Linked DNA regions of Homo sapiens: regions 1 and 2 are each linked to region 3. Evidence: promoter capture Hi-C in 16 types of primary human blood cells and fetal thymus (Javierre and others, 2016). All regions are on one chromosome and are shown on one strand. The core of a region is centred on a gene start or on the middle of the fragment in contact, and the rest is flanking DNA. Distances in the headings are between cores, read along the strand shown.

The links. Contacts are between HindIII fragments. The CHiCAGO score rates a contact against its expected background, and 5 or more counts as called.
Region 1: a fragment that was not itself captured here is called in contact with the fragment with the promoter of SAMSN1-AS1 in region 3 in 1 of 17 cell types (neutrophils); the score reaches 5.3 in neutrophils.
Region 2: a fragment that was not itself captured here is called in contact with the fragment with the promoter of SAMSN1-AS1 in region 3 in 1 of 17 cell types (activated CD4 T cells); the score reaches 5.3 in activated CD4 T cells.

The regions. Positions count from the first base shown.
Region 1 is chr21:14,394,077-14,397,223 of GRCh38, reverse strand. No RefSeq gene overlaps it. Among named protein-coding and RNA genes, the nearest start is that of HSPA13, 13 kb to the right of the region's middle. The HindIII fragment of the contact is 2,244 bases long and covers 744-2,987 here.
Region 2 is chr21:14,437,625-14,440,727 of GRCh38, reverse strand. No RefSeq gene overlaps it. Among named protein-coding and RNA genes, the nearest start is that of HSPA13, 56 kb to the right of the region's middle. The HindIII fragment of the contact is 1,372 bases long and covers 810-2,181 here.
Region 3 is chr21:14,580,910-14,583,609 of GRCh38, reverse strand. It overlaps SAMSN1-AS1 (SAMSN1 antisense RNA 1), which reads right to left and starts at 1,408. Exons shown (of 5, transcript NR_046512.2): 1 at 1,319-1,408. It also overlaps a transcript of SAMSN1 not described here. The HindIII fragment of the contact is 2,204 bases long and covers 1,316-2,700 here.

The sequences.
Region 1 (3,147 bases), core at 616-3,115, 190 kb after region 3:
TGAATCACCCCTAGAGAAAAAAGATCTTCAAGGACAGCAGAGTTTGAAAATGTGAGCAGGCCCAGAAGCAAACCACAGAGTAATTAGAATAATTTAGGAGTGGAGCATGCTCTTATAGTACCCTGGGTGCAAAACAGCTTCTCTGTCCTATGTGCTAGTAAGTGATACACAGAAATAATGGTAGAAAAAGGAAGGACAGACATAGAAGGATTTTATTACATAAGAATAATACTAAGAAACTGGAAATAACCCTAGTCTCCAATAAGAGATATTGTTTAAACAAATTACAGTACATTAGTGTAATGGGAAATTATGTAGGTATTAGACTGAAACAGGATTATGTACAACTATATGGAAAGATATCCATGACATATTGTTAAGGGAGGTGAGCAAATTATAGAATATATACAATATTAACAAATTTCTGTTAATAAAAATGCATAGCTATGTTATATATGTCTATGCAGGAAAAAAAAGTCAAAACACCACATGGGGAAGTTGGGTTGTTTGAAAGGAGTTGTTTTCTAACTTTACACACTGCTGTGTTTACATTGTTTACAATGAGCTATATAAAGAAAATGTTTTTAGCTGGCCTAAAATTCAAGGGAAAAAATCACTTTACAAAAAAGAGAAACCTAGGCCTCATATATTTCACCTAGTCCTCTGAGCTCATCATCTTCGTAAATAAAATAAGTCATTGCTAACATTTGAAATTCTTAAAGTAGATGGCACTGAAATAAGCTTATGCCTATCCCTAGAATCTGGCAAAAGAATTTTTTTAGGAAAAGAGAAAACGAATTTTACTAAAAATAGATTTAAAAGGTTAACATTAGCTGTAGACTGCATTACAAGTATTATTTTCTTTATTAAAATTTTGGCCCATTACCAATTAAATCTCTCTCTCTTTACAGGAAAAAAAAAAAAAGATGGAAGGACTTCCCTTTAATACATGAGAGTAAAGGTGTATACACAAAAACATAAAATCATACACAAAAGCCCCCTTTCCACCAATGTAAATCTTTTCTTTGAAGCAGTTATCATACTTAAAATCACATCATTATTTTGGCAACTAGTTGTTAAAGGTCTGGGCTCCTCTGATTGGGCTATAAGCTCCCTGAGCTCAGGAATCCTATCGTTCTGGTTCCTTACTGTATTCACAGTGCCTAAGAAATGGTAGTTGTACAACTATTTGTGGAGGAAAGGAAGGCAGGAAAAGGAAGAGGGAGAAAGGAGGGAGGAATGAAATTACATTTTCAAAGAAAGAAAGGAATATCCAAGGCCATATCTGCTAAAGAGATGTTATCAGTGTCATGTTATCAATGTTTACATGTAAGAGTCATGTAATCAATGTCACACAACTGACCCTGGAACTCTTTTCTAATAGCTCACTCAGAATTCTTTCTGCTGTACTAGGCAACAGATCCTATTCTGTTTCAAGTTCGTGGGTTTCCTCCCAATTTGAATCAAAAGAATATTGCTGTATATAGTATAGTTAATTTGATCTAAATTTAGGCAAGCACTTCAACACCTATTACCAAAATGTCAGATATGTTACTGTAAAAACATTTGAATCAGATCATTTGATTAGGACAAAAAGACGTGAACATCTTGACATAATTTCCCTTCTTTCCTTTGTCTCCAACCTGTATGGAGGTGAGTCTAGAAAACTCTTTTATTTTGTGATGTTATTGAATTTCATCATATCAGGCAAAAATGTAAGGCCATAGCATTGTGTTCAGAAAAACTAAGTAAGTTCTTTGAAAATACCATTTTTATTAAGGCTTTCTTTGTTGAAAAGAGAAAACCACCTGAAAGCTGATACATTTCCATATTCTATAATCCATTGTAATTCTGTACTAGTCCAGCTTTGAAAAATAATTTTAGCCATTGGAATAGTATTTATTTATATATTCTAAAGTCATATCCAAAATCTAAAGATCTTGCTGAGGCTAAATATTGTTTTGGTGGAGTGAGAAACAATGAAGATGAAAAGAGAATTAGACTACTGAAGTCTCATATTTAAGACATAATTAAGTCTAGGAAACCAAAGCTGAGTTTAGGCTTATTCTCCGAATTCTAGAGTTGCTAGAAAGAAAACTTAAAGGGTATCATTTGCATTGGAAATAGTGCATAATATATACTTTGGAGACCAAAAAAAAAAAAAATGAAAATCATACAAGAACACACATCTGCATTATCATAAACTTGTTCTTTTTAGGGATGGGATTCACTCCTTAATTCAACAGATATTATGTGTCAGAGAGTTTTTCAGGGAGTTAGTATTATATATAAGTCACAATGTAAATCACACCCAGAAGGCAACTGAAAGATAACATATTAAATAATTCCATCTTTATTTAAAAATTAAAAGAGTATATTATAGTGCTTCAGAATTGCTATGGACTGAATTGTATCCCACAGAATTTATATGTCGAAGCCCAAACCTTCGATGTGAAATGTGACTGTATCTGGCGATAAAGGCTCTAGGAGGTAATTAAGGTTAAATGAGGTCATAAAAATGAGGTACTAATACCACAAGACTGTGACCTTATAAAAAGTGTAAGATCTCTGTCTCTCTCTCTCTCTAATATAAACACACACAGAGACACACACACAAACACACACTTTGCTCTCTCTCTCTCTCCCTCTCCCCCTCTGTATCAAGTCATCAATGACAAGGAAAGCAGCCATTTGTGAGCCAGGAAGAGAATCCTCAAAAAAAAAAAAAAAAACACATTTGGCCAACACCTTGATCTCTGACCCACCAGCCACCAAAACTGTGAGAAAATAAGTTTCAGTTTTTGAAGCCAACAGTCCATTGTATTTTGTTATGGAGGCCCAAGCTGACTAAGACAAGAACATAGATTGTTTTTTTAATAAGACGGATCTAATTTTAAATTCTTCCCTAGCTAACCCTCTAAATCTCAGTTTTCTGTTTGTAGAAAGTTATGAACCCACCTCCAAACTCTGCTTTCAGAAAGAAAGCTTATAATACATACAAATCAGTTATTATGGAATTAAATAAATGGTAACTATTATTATTTTATGTTTTATTCATTATTTAAACTGTTTAGCAAATCAAAGACTTTATAACTTAAAAAGAACTTAAATAATACATGTTTAAATGCTAATTAATTATTAATAATC
Region 2 (3,103 bases), core at 246-2,745, 140 kb after region 3:
AGCAATTTGGGAGGCTGAGGTGGGTGGATCACCTGAGGTCAGGAGTTCAAGACCAGTCTGGCCAACATGGCAGAACCTCATCTCTACTAAATATACAAAAATTTAGCCAGGTGTGGTGACAGGTGTCTGTCATCTCAGCTACTCGGGAGGCTGAGGCAGGGAGAATTGCTCGAACCCTGGAGGCAGAGGTTGCAGTGAGCCGAGATTGTGCCACTGCACTCCAGCCTGGGCAACAGAGCAAGACTCCATCTCAAAATAATAACAATAATAATAATAATAAAGACAATTTCTGAAACATCAAAAATATATTTATCAGAAACTGGAAATATTAAAAGGTGGTATACTAAAAGCGTTCCAATAAAGTCAGGAGCCAGACAGGTACGACTGTCACCAATAGTATATAGAGTTTAGCTCATGAAACAAATTTTGGAAATGCATTCACTAACTGACTATATTTTGAAAAAGAAGAGATAAAGCTATTATCATTTGCAGATAATGTAATTATATGCCCTTGTAATCCAAAATAAATAACTAAAATAATTTTAGAGCTAATAAGTTCTATAAAGTTGCTGTATATAAGAAAATTTACAAATATCAATAGTTTTTCTCTATAAGTAAAAGTAACATACAAAAGGGAAAAAAGAGAGAAAAATCTAATTCACATTAGTAACAAAATTTGATAATACCTAGGTATAAATTTAACAAGAAAGGAATAGGAAGAGGCATATCCTTTTCCCAATTGAAAATACAATCCCAGTAAGATACATTCCAATTATTAGATAAATTTTAAAGTATTCCAAGTAGAAGCTTGACTCTTTTTTTTTCCTTTTGAAATCTGACCAGTGAGCACAAAAGCTACAAAATTTTTGAAAATAATAATGAGGTTTGTGGCCTTCCAGGAATTTAAATGTATTTCTTTGTTTTAACTATAAAGTATAGTACAGATACAACAACAGAGAAATAGATCGCTTGACCTAAATAAAGCTCATAAAATAATGCAGGTACATATTAGAATGTACAAATGATAAATCTGGCATTTCATTTCAGTGGGGAAAGAATATTTTATCCAACAAATAGTACTGAGACAATTAGTTGTCAAATGAAAAAGAATAGTTGGATCCTTGTTTCACAATTGTACCGTAATAAATGACAGATCACTTAAAATGTAAATGTGAAAACAGACCAGGCGTGGTGGTAGCTCATGCCTGTAATCCCAGCACTTTGGGAGGCCAAGGCGGGCGGATCACGAGGTCAGGAGATCCAGACCATCCTGGCTAACACGGTGAAACCCTCTCTCTAATAAAAATACAAAAAATTGGCCAGGCATGGTGGCGGGCACCTGTAGTCCCAGCTACTCGGGAGGCTGAGGCAGGAGAATGGCGTGAACCCGGAAGGCGGAGCTTGCAGTGAGCGAGATCGCGCCACTGCACTCCAGCCTGGGAGACAGAGCCAGACTTCATCTCAAAAAAAAAAGAATGCCACCATTTCCTGTATCTTTACTGAGAGAGAGAATACAATAAAGCTATTTGAGAAGAGCACCCATGATGACACTGGTGCCAGGATGTAGGGGCCAAAGCGGACTGAGGCAAGAGGATCACCAAGAGCAGGGCTGATGAGAAAGGTGGGTGAGCTCAAGGGACAGACAACGCTCACTTAAATTTTGTGTCTAGTGATAAAGTTTGGTTTTTCCATAAAATAAGTAAATACTGGAAAAGGCCTGGCCAAAAGCTAAAAAGAAAAGGTTGGAAGTTTAGATAAACAGCTAATGTGCAGTTATTGAAATTCTTTCATAAAATGACAAATAATAAGGGATCCACTAGTCATAAAAACTCTGGAGGTGAAAGAATCCCACGTAAGCAATGCATTATTTCAAAAAGTTATTTCAAAAGCAGTTTCTTAACACTGGCATTTCCTTAACCTAGCAGCTTCTTCAAAGAAATGTCTAGGCTAATGTACGCATGAGCAGCAAATCTCCCTGAATTTTCCACATAGTTGCTTCACCTCTCTGCTTTCCTCCTGTTTTGAAGACTTGACCTCTCAAGTGACATCTATTCTACCAGCATCACCAAAACGAAGTAAAAAATAAATAAAAGCAGGTAATGTCAATCCTGAAGTGATGTGAACTGTGACAGAATTTTTTTTTTTTTTTTTTCTGTATTTACTTAAAACAACTCCAAAGCTTCAGTTCCATCATTGTAAGGTTTCAGAAGTTTAGCCCTTTTAGAGGGAAAAACCGTCTGTCCTGCTGTTCCTCTGCAGGCGATGGAACACTGCAAAGCTTTATTATCTTGAAAGCACTTCTTTGGTAATTCTCAAGACCTCATTTCTCAATCCAGCAGCGTTGTTGAGCAACTGCATGTGTTCTTCAGAATTAGAATTACTGTCCACAGGGAATCTGGCTCCCATGCCCCTTTTAAGTCATTTTCTGTGTACTTTGAGACAGAACATTTGGGACATGGCCCATGTAAAATGTCATATATCTGCGAAAAAGCTTTTACTTATCCAAAGGTGTTTGTGGTTTAAAAAAGAAGAGAAAGAGAGAGAGAAAGTCTTGGTTTCCTTAAACATCTTTGTGCCATCTCAAATCTGAATATTAGGTATTGTCACCCTACTACCCATCAGGAGTCCAGTGGTCTTTCTCTCCTTCTGCCATCATTTCAAAGATGGATTTTTATATTAATCATTCACTCTTTAGTGTGAATACATTCAATCATTTTAAGAGTTTGAGGAATTTTCATTTAAGCCTTGTTTCTAATTGTTTAAAATATTTTTGTCTCTCATAAAATTAATTTTAGGCATCATATGAAACTTAAATACAATTATGAATTCTCATTGCATTCCATGATCTTTTCTCTTGAATGAAAGAGAGAACAAATAGGAGTCTGACTGGACTATGGCAGTGACTGAGGGAGTCTGAAGCTGATTGACAGAACATTGTGGGTCCAGGCAGCACCCATCCTTCCAGGCTTCAGCACCCGGGGCCCACCTGCTCAAGCTCCACTATTCCTGCCCACTGCTTCCTTTCCTCCAGTCTTATCCATTGGCTCTCTTGATCCTTCATCATTCTTGTTCTCAAGACTCTAATGTATCAGAGATCAAAACT
Region 3 (2,700 bases), core at 159-2,658:
GAGAACTAAGGAAGCATACGTTAATGAAGCCCATTTTGATAAAGTCTTAAGATAATCATTAAACATTGAGGATTTTTTTTTATTGCCAAGTTATTTTAAAACAGACATCCCCATCTGTTCCTGAATTTTACCCCGTATTTATGCACCGCCCCGTTTCTCCTTGCCTTCAAGACCGGGCTCCGAGACACAGTGAGAGAGAGCAATGGAGGAAGCTCAGCAGTGTCCACTGTCGCCATTCCTTGGCCATAGAAAACAATGTATTTGAATTTTGATGTAAGCATAACAAATTGGTATGTCCATGGCATGCAACTTTGATTTTCATTTATTTATTTATAATAGCATGCCTTAAGTAATCGAACTCTTTTAAAAATACCCATTAAACGTTTGGATTTAAAGGGATTCCATGACATAGAGCAATTGACTCTGGGTGATATATATTTCTATTTTCTGTAACTGTTTTCTACATTACTAGAAATTTCATCAGAGTCTTTGCCACATTGTGTAAATATAGATCTCACAAATGAACTTTATGGTATTACAGATATGGCTTTTTTAAATTTTTGTCGTTCTTGTTTTTTGAAAACCATTTCACTGTGAGACACACTGCATCCATACATCTCTTGGTAGATTGATATTAAAATAGACAATTTCAGAATGTCAGTAGGATTTCAGTCCAAACCACTGAGATTTTATTCTTTTAAGTAGGGCAAATAATTTTATTTATTTCCTTATAATTCTTTATTATACACATGACCTTAAAAATTAAAAAAATATTTAAGAATAGAAACATAAGAGGTGGGTTTTTTAATTGTATTTTTTTCTCAAATATCTTTCAGCATATTATTTGTATGTGGCCTCCATTCTTTCCAGTGAGATAGAATTTAATCAATTGTTATGGTTTCAAAAATGTCAGAAAAATGCGACTTTTACAAAACAAAAAATTTTATATAGCAAAATAACTTGCTTTTTAAATAAATGCTGCTGTAAATAATTTTATAAAATTGAATGACTTCTTGGTTTATCCATTGCAGTGTATTTATTTCTCTTATATAAATGGAAGAATAATTCCTATATGTGAAGAATTATAATCATAGTTTTTAACCTATTTCTTTGTCATTCAGAAGATGAAGATGACACGTTGATTTCTTGTTTGAAATTAACCAAGTCCCGAGAAAAGAAAGTGAATAGTGTTAGCACGAGGAGGAAGGAAGAAATGGAGATTAGATTGGATACTCTTTCTGCATCACTGGGTAGATCCAGCACTTTAAATAACTGCAACTTGGAAGATAAATTAGCTTGGTATGAAGGTGAAGCTTACATGTGGCATCACTGGAAGCCTTTTCCTGAAAACCCTCTCTGGACATGTCTTGATTTCCAAATAGCACAAGTTGGACCCTGGGACCACTGCTCCTCTTGTATTCGCCACACACGTCTCAAGTCTTCCTGCTCAGATATGGATCTCCTACATTCATGGGTAAGTTTGCAGACTACGGAAATGTGTCATCTTATCTGGGGTTTTGTACTGTCGGGAAAGAAACAGATAGCAAAAGTGCTAATCAGTGAAATTTATCAGTTTCAGAAAAGTTACCAGAGCAAGAGTTGTCTTTCCAAAAAGCAACCAAACTCTTGTGACTTTTACCCATATTAACATTTCATATATTCCTTTGTGTACAAATTAATGACTGCATAAAATTTTTCCAGGGATTTCTTTTTGATTGAAGGAAGACTTCGTGTGTTGACTGAGATCAAGAAAATGTGAAGTGAACTGTCTAAATTATTGCAATTATAATGAAATTTCACTGAAAAATAATAGCTAATTTTAATGAGCATTTTATTTGGGCCTGCCATTTTCCTAAGCATTTTATATGTATTATCTCATTTAAATCTCACATCAACTCTATAAGGTAAGGACTTACATTATGAAATATTACCTTAAGAAATATTATTTTTGGCCAGGCACGGTGGCTCATGCCTGTAATCCCAGCACTTTTGGGAGGCCGAGGCGGGAGGATCATGAGGTCAGGAGATCGAGACCATCCTGGCTAACAAGGTGAAACCCCGTCTCTACTAAAAATACAAAAAAATTAGCCGGGCGTGGTGGCGGGCACCTGTAGTTCCAGCTACTCGGGAGGCTGAGGCGGAAGAATGGCGTGAACCCAGGAGGTGGAGCTTGCAGTGAGCCGAGATCGCGCCACTGCCCTCCAGCCTGGGCGACTGAGCAAGACTCGTCCTCAAAAAAAAAAAAAAAAAAAAAAAAAAAAAAAAGAAATATTATTTCCCCTCATTTTACAGTTGAGAAAATGGAGGCACAAAAAGTTGGTAACAGGTGCAAAGTCAGACAGCTAACAGGAGGTAGAGCCAAGACCTATAACCTAGGTCTTGCTTTTAGCTAGAGCTCCTGCTTTTAGCTACTACATTAGAGTGTTTTCCATATACGAGGGCAGACTCTAAGGCTATTATGTGATACGTGAGAAAGAGTATGCTCTCTGGAGTCAAACAAATTTGGATGGATTCTGGCTGTGCTACTTTTTTTTTGGGCTTGGATAAGTTATTTAAACCTTTTAATCTTAACTTTCTTAACTAAAAAATGGAAATAGTCAAGAAGCTAAAGTCAAATATTATAAATCTTCTAGTACTTAAGAGTGGTACTTTTTTTTCAATTTCCTTGTAAATTGCTCAAGGCATGTTTTATAACTTTAC